Regions from separate parts of the Homo sapiens genome. Here region 2 is linked to region 1. The links are contacts of gene promoters, found by promoter capture Hi-C in human tissues and cell types (Jung and others, 2019). All regions are on one chromosome and are shown on one strand. The core of a region is centred on a gene start or on the middle of the fragment in contact, and the rest is flanking DNA. Distances in the headings are between cores, read along the strand shown.

The links. The method cuts DNA at HindIII sites, captures the fragments that hold promoters and counts their contacts. A contact is called where the count stands out against the background at its distance.
Region 2: a fragment that was not itself captured here is called in contact with the fragment with the promoter of ARL6IP1 in region 1 in 1 of the 25 tissues and cell types used here (lymphoblastoid cells).

Annotation. Positions count from the first base shown.
Region 1 is chr16:18,799,080-18,805,263 of GRCh38, reverse strand. ARL6IP1 (ARL6 interacting reticulophagy regulator 1) reads left to right here and starts at 3,715. Exons shown (of 6, transcript NM_015161.3): 1 at 3,715-3,833. The coding sequence starts at 3,798. SMG1 (SMG1 nonsense mediated mRNA decay associated PI3K related kinase) reads left to right here. Exons shown (of 63, transcript NM_015092.5): 63 at 1-404. RefSeq lists enhancers at 3,172-3,411, 3,792-3,871, 4,092-4,211. The HindIII fragment of the contact is 10,319 bases long and covers 1,126-6,184 here.
Region 2 is chr16:19,012,766-19,018,949 of GRCh38, reverse strand. TMC7 (transmembrane channel like 7) reads right to left here. Exons shown (of 16, transcript NM_024847.4): 3 at 2,352-2,500. Among named protein-coding and RNA genes, the nearest start is that of TMC7, 32 kb to the right of the region's middle. The HindIII fragment of the contact is 4,872 bases long and covers 943-5,814 here.

The sequences.
Region 1 (6,184 bases), core at 2,466-4,965:
AAAGTTTCAGCTCCTCTTTAAAGTTATTGTGTCATTTTTCTGGTTTAAATTTCCCTTATATTTCCACCTGTAATGTCAGTGGCAACAACATCATACTTCACTTACTTGTTAATTTACTTTTTACCCTTATTCTAAGAGCAAGTTGAGTTGAACTGAATCTTCCTTGTCTTAGTAACAATGTATAAATAGTGGCTTTTCTGTACAAAAGGTTGTAATGCCTCCTGATGGATATAATTTTGTGATTGTATTTAAAAGTTGAATAAATCACACCAGCTTCCTGAAAATGTTCATAATGCATCTTTTGGAAAACAAATACATGCCTACTTTGTGCATATTTGCATTAACATGGCAAAGATTGTATGAAATACCTGTTTTTCAGAAAATAAAGGTTCAGTCTCAAAAGATACAGCATTTAAGTTCTGAATTTATTGGTCAAAATAGATTTTGGAAAACTTGAAACCTTTTGGAACCTGGGTAGCTTGAAAAAACAAAACGACAGGGTCTCCCTATGTTGCCCAGGCTGATCTCGAACTCCTGGGCTCAAGTTACACTCCCACTTCAGCCTCCCAAAGTGCTGGGATTACAAGCCTGAGCCACTAAGCCGAGCCAAGCCTAGTCTTTTTTTTCTGAATAGCACTAATACCTCAAAAAAGACCCCTAAATTCTCAGAAAAGTAACTATTTTATTCTCAAACATCTGTTGTATTTTTGAATAGCAGTAGAAATTCTACTTCAACGATAAAATTCTTTGTGTTAAGGCCCAATTTATAAAGCTTAATTTTGGCAGTATTTAAAAACAAAATTCCCGTAGATCATTATTGACAGATAGGTGCATTCCTTGGAGTGTGAAACCTCTGAAAAAAAATAGAAAATGTCCAGCTTGGCTTTATATCTTGGAGATTGCATTTGTTGCTGCTAAATGAAGTTAGTAAGATTTGTGTTAACTGCTTAGTCATCTGGCACATTTCAAAAGATCACATCCTGTCTCTGTAGGACAAAAACAAAGCTCTAAAGAAAGCTATGTTAAGGGTGGGTGTTTTTTAATAATTAGACCAATCGGAAATTTAGTGAGAGACCATATAGCAGGGCTGTGCATTTAGAAATAGGTATGGGAATACATTGTTAAGTAACAAAAAATACTAAGTGGAGAAACTGCTGTTTCAGTTGCTTCTGTTTTTTTCACCTACCTTCATTTCACAAGCTGGTGTTAACAAGTCTTAAGTTGTGCATGGAAAACTTGGGTGAAAACAAGAAGCATATTCTGCAGCAAAAGCTGATTTCCCAAAAGTAGAAATGTCAGTTTTAAACCCTAATAAAATACCCTCTCTTTTGGAAGTGGCTATTACTGTGGGTCTAGCAAGATCACATACCCAGTGCTCAACATATTCACTAATTATGTGGCTGCTGATTGCTTCGATCTTTTTGACTTTTTTTTTTTTTTTTTTTTTTGAGACAGGTTTTTTGCTCTGTCACCCAAGCTTAAGTGCATAGGTGCAATCATAGCTCACTGCAGCCTCTATTTCCTGGGCTCAAGGGATCTTCCCTGCCTCCCCATTTGTATTTTTTTTTTTTTAGGGGCGTGGAGAAGAACCTGCTCCTCAGACTCCATAGCTTTAAAATCTCTCCAAATAGCGTCTCTGTCAACTGGCTGTATCCTGCCTTTACAACTTCTTTACCCCAACATTCTCCAAAGTGGCACTTTATTGAACAGTCAGCTTCCCTTGCAAAGACTTTTTTTCAAGTGCTTCTCCCTGATTCAGATACTTCACTCCCCTTTCCCCGAAAGACCCACAGCAAATTGACACCCTTCCATGAAATTCACAATGCTCCTGCCCTTGCCCAGCTCTCTTAGGGGCAGTATGTGGTCTGCAGCTATGTTCTCTCACATTTATGACTTCCTTGAACATTTAAGAACCTGGTGGTTACTTAAGGAACATTTTAAAAATAAATTTAAATTCAATGGCCGAATACAAATGACCATGAGATTGGAAGTTAAAACCTGTAAAAAAGATAAAAGGTTGGAAGTTAAAACTATAGTTAATTCACCTGAAACAAACATCTGATCCGGACATTTGGCATGATTCTGTTTGTATCAAACGATGAAAAATCGGCCGGGCGCGGTGGCTACTGCACTACAGCCTGGGCAACAGAGCCAGGCTGTGTCTCAAGAAAAAAAGAAAAAAAAAAAAAAAAAAAAAAAAAAAAGATCAAAGCACTTGTTACTGCATTTGAAATCCTGGATAGAAAAGATGTACAAGTGCCTCAACACAGTTCCTAAACTGCCTAGGAATTCTACTGCTTGTGAGAGGGTTTACATATTTTCTTAGCTTGACCTCTAATGGAAGAAAGGTCGTGTCAAGAACTATCCTTTTGGCCGGGCGCGGTAGCTCACGCCTGTAATCCCAGCACTTTGGCAGGCTAAGGCGGGCGGATATCTTGAGGTCAGGAGGTCCAGACCACCCTGGCCAAAATAGCGAAACCCCGTCTCTATTAAAATACAAAAATTAGCCGGGCGTAGTGACGGGCGTCTGTAATTCCAGCTACTCGGGAGGCTGACGCGCCAGGATCACTTGAACCCGGGAGATGGAGGTTACAGTGAGCAGAGATCGCGCCACTGCACTTCAGCCGGGGCCACGGAGCGCGAGACTCCTTCGTCTCAAACAAACAAACAAACAATTCTGGCCGGGCGCGGTGGCTCACGCCTGTAATCCTAGCACTTTGGGAGGCCGAGGCGGGCGGATCACGAGGTCAGGAGATCGAGACCATCCTAACACGGTGAAACTACGTCTCTACTAAAAATACAAAAAATTAGCCAGGCGTGTTGGCGGACGCCTGTAGTCCCAGCTACTTGGAAGGCTGAGGCAGGACAATGGCGTGAACCCGGGAGGCAGAGCTTGCAGTGAGCAAGATCGCGCCACTGCACTCCAGGCTGGGCAACATAGCGAGACTCCGTCTCAAAAAAAAAGAAAAAAAAAAAAAGAATCCTTTTGGAGAGGGAGCTTGTAGTTTAAGTAACTTAAACATCCACGTATAATAAAGCCACTTAGAAGGCGGTGCATTTTCACACGTTCTCAAACCAGGCCTGGGTTTTTCCGCGCAAGCTAAGGCCTCATTCCTACTGGGTAGGAGAGAAACATTGCAGCAAAATCCACACAAAGAGCTCTTTTCACTTGTCCTCAAAACCTCACGGGTCGCAAATCCGGGCTAAACGGCTCAGGGGCCTGGCTGGGGAACTGGGCCGAAGGTGGAACGGATCCCAGCCACCTCGGGGCCAGGAAAAGATGAAGTGTCGCAGGCCCGGCGTCCCCGCCCTCCGCCTGAGGCAACGGAGCATCTCTCTTCGAGTAGCCCATTTTCCAGAGAGTCTCCTCGGCTGCGAAAGCCAGACGAAGAGGGACCCAAAGCCACCGCAGCGGCAAGAGCCGGAGAACCACTGAGGGACAGCGCCCCCTGCAGAGGCGGTTGAACCGCTTCCCACAGCGCTGGGCGGGGCGTCGCGCAGTCCCTGGGCGCTGATTGGGCACTCCGTGTCCCCTCCCCCTCGGCCCGGCGCTGCCTCTGTCTCCTTTGACCTCGATTTCAAGCCATGCGCTGAGCTTCGGTTGGCCCGGCTTCCTTGAGGCGTAAGCTCGGTCTGTCCAATGAGGAGCGAGCGTCGCGGGGGCCGTCGGGAAGGGCGGCCGACCCATATAAGCAGCCTGCGGGGCGTTCCCTCGGGTTGTGGTTGGTGTGCGGGTTTCGGTTGGAGGACTCGTTGGGGAGGTGGCCTGCGCTTGTAGAGACTGCATCCCCGAGACGATGGCGGAGGGAGATAATCGCAGCACCAACCTGCTGGTGAGTCCTGGCTGCCTGTCCCCCGGGAGCCGAGCGAGGCCTCCAGACGTCCGTGGGCTCAAACACCGCGGCCTCGTCCCTGTCACCCGCCGCGGGCCCGGCCCTTCTCTCCCTGGGCAGGCGACGATGCCTGGCCCTCGGGCTTCTTGGGTGACTCCTGGGTGTCGAACCCTTACCTTTCCTGGGGACGGTGCGCGACGGGGCGAGGAGGGCGCGTGATTCATCACCGCGAGTAGGAGTCGAGGAGGAAGTGGGAGGCAGAGGGGCTGCGACACTAGCCTGGGGTGCGGGTGGGGGCAGAAGGCCTCCTGGGGCCTGTCCAGCGCTTTCGCGGCTCAGGCCCCAGCCGTATTCGGCTTTCCCCGTCTTTGATCTTAACCTGGATGTGCCTGCCTTCTTTTCCCCCTAAAACTTGGACAAGGGTGGAGGGTCAAAGGGCTACTGCCCAGAATTTATCTTAGAGCTGGTACAACTTAAAACGACAGGGAGGCTGCGAGCTCACCGTGGGGAACCGGGAGCGGGGTCCAGCTGAACAGACAATGGGATGTCTTGGCGTTTGTCTGGAATTTGGAAGTCTGGCGGGGGTGGGGTCACAGGACTACTGGAAACAGCTTTAGAGTAATAAGCAGGGATCCGAAGGAACTGCAGTGAGATGGTATCATAGGCGGACACATTTTTATTTGTTATGAATTTAAGCGCACCTTGTGGGCAAAAAACAAGAGAAATATCCTTGCATATTCTCAGTTGCCCTTCCCTGGTGACTGTAGGTCACATACCAGCAATGAAAAACGGAACCAAAGAATTTACTTAGGGGCTTTTGAACTTCCAAGACCCCAGACGCTGGCCAATGACGTGACTTCAGGGCAGTTTTGATTGTGCGTGATTTTATATTTGCTTTTAGAAATGCATGGTTTGTTCCTTTAAACACACGCTCCTTCTAGCATAGTTAGTTCTCAGCGTGGATCTTTTTAAGAGGATTAATTGAAGCACAGAGAAGTAGCTCAAGCCCTGTTGAAATGACAAATCCTGGGCTAGAGCTCCTGCTTCCCAACTCTCCTTCCAGCAGAGCAATATAACTCTAAGGAAAGCAACGCCTTTGGTCGTGGATTTCTTGGATGCAGATCAGTTAACCTCTGTATCTGTTTCCTCCTTGGTAAAATGGGGACAGTAATAACACCTTTTTTTAAGGGTTGTTAGGAAGATTAATTGAAGTATAAATATGAATGCTCAGCAGAGTGCCCACACATAGTAGTCTCTTTCACTAGTATTAAGCATGGAATATAAAGTCAGAAATATTGAGATCACACTAGTGCTCAGCGTGGCACAGATAGCGAGCGTCTTTGTTAAGATTAAGTGCCTTGTTCTGTCATTTGCATGATTTCCAGTGAATGACTTTTACAAAGAGACAAGGTCTCAGCCCAGGCTGGTCCCGATCTCCTGGGCTCAAGCAATCCCCCCCGACCCGCCAAGTGCTGGGTTTACAGGCGTGATCCACTGCATCCAGCCTGATAACATAGAGACACTTGAGTTTCTTATTCTAAATTTTTCTTCCTTTACCAAAACCAGCTTTAAGGGCTTTTGCCACATTAGCTCATCCTAGAGGCCCACTTTCGGCTGTTCAGAGTCAGAGAAATTTGAAGTATAATCAAAATGACATCCTGAGTGGTAAGAAACACTGTATTGAGGAGGTATATTGACCGTAAAATGCCACCTTAATTTGGTGAAAGTAGTTTTCCTTAATTGTCCAATGAATGTCAACATCTGAGTGATTCCATTACACAAAGAGCTATTTTAGAAATTGAATGCTATTCAGGGAAAGTCTTTCCTAATGGATTTAGAAGGGTTTAAATCAATAAGATGACAAAAACAACGGATCAATTCTAACCATCTGAAATAAACAAACTTAAAAAAAGTTATTTCATTTTATTAATACTCTGGGCACTGCCACGATTCCCCGCATGACTTTGAGAAAGTAAACCATTTTGAGCTCACTTTCTTTAATTGTAAATTGAGTCTAATTATCCCTACCTTGTGGCTCTCTGTAAGGATTAAGTTACATCATGTATATAAAGAATAGCCCAGTGCTTGGACTAGAAAAGTGACCATTAAAGGATATTTAGGCTGGGCCTGGTGGCTCACACCTGTAATCCCAGCACTTTGGGAAGACGAGGTGAGTGGATCACTTGAGGTCCAGAGTTTGAGACCAGCCTGGCCAACATGGTGAAACCCTGTCTCTACAAAAAATTAGTCGGGCGTGGTGGCGGGCGCCTATAGTCCCAACTACTCAGGAGTATGAGGTAGGAGAATCGCTTGAACCCAGGAGGCGGAGGCTGCAGTGAGCCGAGATCTCC
Region 2 (6,184 bases), core at 2,129-4,628, 210 kb before region 1:
GAACTTGTGAGGCGGAGGTTGCAGTGAGCCAAGACTGCACCATTGCCCTCCGGCCTGGGCAACAAGAGCGAAACTTTGTCTCAAAAAATAAAATAAAATAGATAATCAAAAAAATGTTTAATGTTTCTAATTTTGTATTTTGGTTTTTTTTTATTTTCATTTTTATTTTTAGATTAAATAGAGACAGGATCTTACTATGTTACCCAGGCTGGTCACAAACTCCTGAGCTCAAGTGATCCTCCTGCCTCAGCCTCCCAAAGCACTAGGATGGGGGCATGAGCCACTGTGCCTGGCTAATTTTGTATTTTGGCACAACTTCCCATTTTTGCATACTTGCTATGGACTGAATTGTGTCCCCACCCTCAAATTCGTATGGTGAAGCCCTAACACCCAGTGTCATGGTATTTGGAGATGAGCCTTTGGGAGGTGATTAGGTTTCAATGAGGTCTTGAGAGTGGTGTCCCATGATGGGATTAGTGTCCTTATAAAAAGAGACACCAGAGAGTTTGCACTCTTTCTCAGAGCACACTCAAAGCAAAGGTTACGTGAACACAGCAAGAAGGCCTGTTCGAGCCTCCAAAACTATGAGAAAAAAAAGTTTCTGTTTTTTAAGCCATCCAGTCTGCGGTATTTTGTTATGGCAGCCCAAGCCAACTAATAACAATATTTTAATCCCAAATTCTCACCATTATAGGAAAGTAGGGGTTCACAGTATTTTCAGGGCCACAGGAACTCTTTGCAGTTTGGTAAAAGTGATGAACCTCGACTCAGGATAATAAGGCTTTCTGTTTGTTTATTTATGTTTTTGTTTTGAGACAGGGTCTGGCTCTGTTACCCAGGCTGGAGTGCAATAGCACAATCATAGCTTACTGCAGCCTCAAACTCCTGGGCTCAGGTGATCCTCCTGCCTAAGCTTCCCCAGAAGCTGGGACTATGGGCATATAGCACCACATCCAGCTAATTTTTAAAGCTTTTTTTGGAGCCAGGCGTGGTGGCTCACGCCTGTAATCCCAGCACTTTGGGAGGCCGAGAAGGGCGGATGACGAGGTCAGGAGATCAAGACCATCCTGGCTAACACGGTGAAACCCCGTCTCTACTAAAAATACAAAAAATTAGCCAGGCGAGGTGGCGGGCACCTGTAGTCCCAGCTACTCGGGAGGCTGAGGCAGGAGACTGGCGTGAACCCCGGGGGGCGGAGCCTGCAGTGAGCCGAGATTGCACCACTGCACTCCAGCCTGGGTGATAGAGCAAGATTCAGTCTCAAAAAAAAAAAAAAAAAAAACTGTTTTTTGAAGAGGCAAGGTCTTAAACTTTGTTACCCAGGCTGGTCTCAAACTCCTGGGCTCAGATGCTCTTCCTGCCTCAGTCTCCCAAAATGCTAGGATTACAGGCATGAACCACCACCTGGCTGGGATAATGTTTTTAATAATATGATAACTGTATGTCTGTTTTTATTTTATGCATTGAAATTAAAAGTATAACATTTTAAAATAATATATTTATGCATAATATTTTAATGCATGAAATAATAGTTTACTAATATTAAAATATTATAATTTAATATTATTTTTAAATAATACTATTTTATGCATTTAATTTAAATTAAATTATTAAATAATTTAATATTATTTTTAAATAATACTATTCATGCATTTCATTTAAATGCATAAGATAAAAAGATATACAGTTATCATATTATTTTAAAAATATGTGTGATAGAATAACCTATGTGAGCATCATGAGCACCTTTACTGGCACTTCTTTTGAGACAGAGTCTCACTCTGTTACCCAGGCTGGAGTGCAATAGTGCGGTCTCAGCTCACTGCAACGTCCACCTCCCAGGTTCAAGTGATTCTCATGCCTCAGCCTCCCAAATAGCTGGGATTACAGGCATGCACTACCATGCCCAGCTAATTTTTTGTAGTTTTAGTAGAGACGGGATTTCACCATGTTGTCCAGGCTGGTCTCAAACTCCTGAACTCATGATTCACCCACCTTGGCCTCCCAAATTGCTGGGATTACAGGAGTGAGCCACTGCGCCTGGTCTTCACTAGCACATTAAATAACAAGATCTAGTGGGAAGTCTAATAATGACTGAAATTTCCAAGTATTCATGGGTATTAACGGTATTCCAAGATAAATACAACAACTGGAAGGGACAGGAAAATATCCACGATTTTTCCTGGTGACAAAGTCACAGGTTCTGCTAAACCTTGCTGTGGTTTGTTGCTCACATTCATCATGGAAAGAAATGCTCAATTTCAGCTAGACCCTAGTGGAAACGAAGCTGTACTTGCTCCCCAGACACAGACTTCTGCGGAGGAGCCTGCAGAGAGGTGAGGACAGCATACCTTCTATGCTGCGGATGTCCTCCCGCCACAGCTCCAGGTGGGTCGTCATCTCTCGAGCCTTCTCTAGGAACCTCTTCCAAGACTTGCTGCTATACCGCTTCCACTGGTCCCATTCGGAGAGATACTTCATTTGTGTCTCTTGAATGTCCCTGCATGGAAAACATGATCATGACAATGACAACAACAGCAGCATCAAGACTCAGCATCCCAGCCTGGCACAGTAGCTCACGCCTGTAATCCCAGCACTCTGGGAGGCCGAGGCAGGTGGATCACCTGAGGTCAGGAGTTCAAGACCAGCCTGGCCAACATGGTGAAACACCATCTCTACTAAAAATACAAAATTAGCCAGGTGTGGTGGCGGGCGCCTGTAATCCCAGCTACTCCACGAGGCTGAGGCAGAAGAACCTCTGGGAGGCGGAGGTTGCGGTGAGCCGAGATGGTGCCATTGCACTCCAGCCTGGGCAACAAGAGTGAAACTTCATCTCAAAAAAAAAGAAAGAAAAGAAAAGAAAGACTCAGCATCTCATAAAATCCCAGCTGAAAGGACAGAGAAATATGTGAGCTCTCATACATTGCTGCAAGGAATATAAAATGCCGCCGCTATGGAAAAAAGTTTGGCAGTCCGTCAAAATGTCAAACAGAATAACCATGTGCCATGTAGTTCCACTCCTAGGTACATACAAAGAATTGAAAACAGGGCTCTCAAACAAAAACTTGTCATGAGGCTGGGCGTGGTGGCTCATGCCTGTAATCCAAGCACTTTGGGAGGCTGAGGCAGGTGGATCACCTGAGGTCAGGAATTCGAGACCAGCCTGGCCAACATAGTGAAACTCCATCTCTACTAAAAATACAAATTAGCCAGGCATGGTGGTGGGCGTCTGTAATTCCAGCTACTTGGGAGGCCGAGGCAGAAGAATTTCTTGAACCCGGGAGGCGGAGTTTGCAGTGAGCCGAGATCATGCCACTGCACTATGTTGGCCAGTCTGGGCAACAAGAGTGAAACTCGGTCTCAAAAAAAAAAAAAAAAACTTGTCTTGAGTGTTCGTAGCAGCATTGTTGCTAATAATCAAAAGGTAGAAACAATCCAAATGTCCACTGACAGATAAGTGGATTTTTTTAAATGTGGTCTATCCACACAATAGGATATTATTCAACCTCAGAAAGGAATGACGGGCCAGGCACAGTGGCTCATGCCTGTAATCTCTGAACTTTGGGAGGCTGAGGCAGGAGGATTGCTTGAGCCTGGGGGATCAGGCTGCAGTGAGCTGAGATCTCACCACTGCACTCCATCCTGGGAGACAGAGCAAGGCCCTGTCACAAAAAAAAAAACAAGGAGGCCAGGCACAGTGGCTCACACTTGTAATCCCATCACTTTGGGAGGCCAAGGCAGGCAGATCACATGAAGCCAGGAGTTCAAGACCAGCCTGACCAACATGGCGAAACCCCGTCTCTACTGAAAATACCAAAATTAGGTGGGCATGGTGGCAGGCACCTGTAATCCCAGCTACTAGGGAGGCTGAGGCAGGAGAATCGCTTGAACCCGGAAGGCGGAGGTTGCAGTGGGCCGAGATGTTGCCATTGCACTCCAGCCTGGGTGACAGAGCGAGACTCCATATCAAAAAAAAACAAAAAAACAATTAAATAAAAATAATAAAAATAAAAGCCAAAAGAAAAATAATATTTTGTGACACATGAAAATCACATGAAATTCGAATTTCAGTGTCCATAAATATTCCTAGAACACAGCCATGCCAATTCATTTATGAACCATCTGCAACAGGAGAATTAAGTAGTTGCAACAGAGACTACACGGCCCACAAAGCTGATCCTGAGTCTGGAGGGAAGGCAAACAGGCTGACGTCCAACAACGACAGCTCCCTGGGGGAAGTGCTACAAAAGGGGATGTGGTCAGAGCTCTGGAAACCTGGAGGAGGCGCCCCAAGTCCAAGTTGGTGTTGGAGCAGGGAGTAAGGAGAGCAGGGGAAAGAGAAGGTGCTGGGGCCTGAAGGCGAGAGAGGAAACATGAGGAATTTGCCAGCCATCCATGGCATATGGCACACGGCACACGCCTCCACCCTCCCACCAGTCTGTCCTCCATCAGACAGGGAGCTCCTATTAAAGAAAAGGACTTGAACCTTCCATCCAAACGAGCCTCGCAGTGCTGTGCATTGGGTTCCTTATCTGTAACTTGGAGTTAGTAAAGTACCTACCCTTAGATCAGTGGTTCTCAAGTGGGGGCGATTTTGCATACCCCCCAAGGAACATCAGGCAATGGTCTGGGGACATCTTTGATTGTCACAACTTGGGGGAGGGGGACATGCTTCTGGCATCTAGTGGGTAGAGGCCAGGGATGTTGCTAAACATCCTCCAATCCACAGACAGCCCTCCACAACAGAGAACTATCTGGCCCCAAATCTCGATAAGCAAGAGTGCGGCCAGGTGTGGTGGCTCACGCCTGTAATCCCAGCACTTTGGGAGGCCGAGGCAGGCAGATCACAAGGTCAGAAGATCAAGACCATCCTGGCTAACACGGTGAAACCCCATCTCTACTAAAAACAAAATAAAAAATACAAAAAAATTAGCTGGGTGCGGTGGCGGGCACCTGTAGTCCCAGCTACTTGGGAGGCTGAGGCAGAAGAATGGCGTGAACCTGGGAGGCAGAGCTTGCAGTGACCCAAGATGGTGCCAGTGCACTCCAGCCTGGGCAATAGAGCGAGACCCCATCTCAAAAAAAAAAAAAAAAAAAAGCAAGAGTGCTAAGGTTAAAAAAACCCTCCCTCGGCCGGGCGCAGTGGCTCATGCTTGTAATCCCAGCACTTTGGGAGGCCAAGGCAGATGGATCACCTGAGGCTAGGAATTCCAGACGAGCCTAACCAACATGGTGAAACCCCGTCTCTACCAAAAATAAAAAAAATTAGCCAGGCATGGTGGCAGGTGCCTGTAATCCTAGCTACTCAGGAGGCTGAAGTGGGACAGTCGCTGAAACCCGCGAGGCAGAGGTTGCAGTGAGGCGAGATGGCACCACTGCATTCCAGCCTGGGTGACAGAGTGAGATTCCGTCTCAAAAAAAATAAATAAAATAGGCCAGGCACGGTGGCTCATGCCTGTAATCCCAGGACTTTGGGAGGCCGAGGCAGGCGGATCACCTGAGGTCGGGAGTTTGAGACCAGCCTGACCAACATGGAGAAACCCTGTCTCTACTAAAATACAAAATTAGCCAGGTGTGGTGGTGCATACCTGTAATCCCAGCTACTAGGGAGGCTGAGGCAGGAGAATCGCTTGAACCCGGGAGGCAGAGGTTGTGGTGAGCCGAGATCGCACCATTGCACTCCAGCCCGGGCAACAAGAGCGAAACTCCGTCTAAAAATAAATAAATAAAATAATAATAATAATTTGAAAACCTTGCCTCAGAGGGTGGAGTGGGGATTAAAGGAAATAAAGAGCTTAGAATAACAACTATTAGCAATTAGAATTGTCCTTCCTGGCCCGGTGCGGTGGCTAAGCCTGTAATCCCAGCACTTTGGGAGGCCAAGGCAGGCGGATCACCTGAGGTCAGGAGTTCAAAACCAGCCTGACCAACGTGGTGAAACCCTGTCTCTACTAAAAATTACAAAATTAGCCAGGCATGCTGGTGGGTGCCTGTAATCCCAGCTACTCAGGAGGCTGAGGCAGGAGAATTGCTTGAACCTGGGGCAGGGAGGTTGCAGTGAGCCGAGATCCCGTCTCAAAAAAAAAAGAATGATCCTTTCTCCTTTCTGTGTCCTTTTCTTTGCCACTTTCTTTTTTTTTTTTTTTTTTTTTTTTTTTTTTGAGATGGAATCTCACTCTGTCGC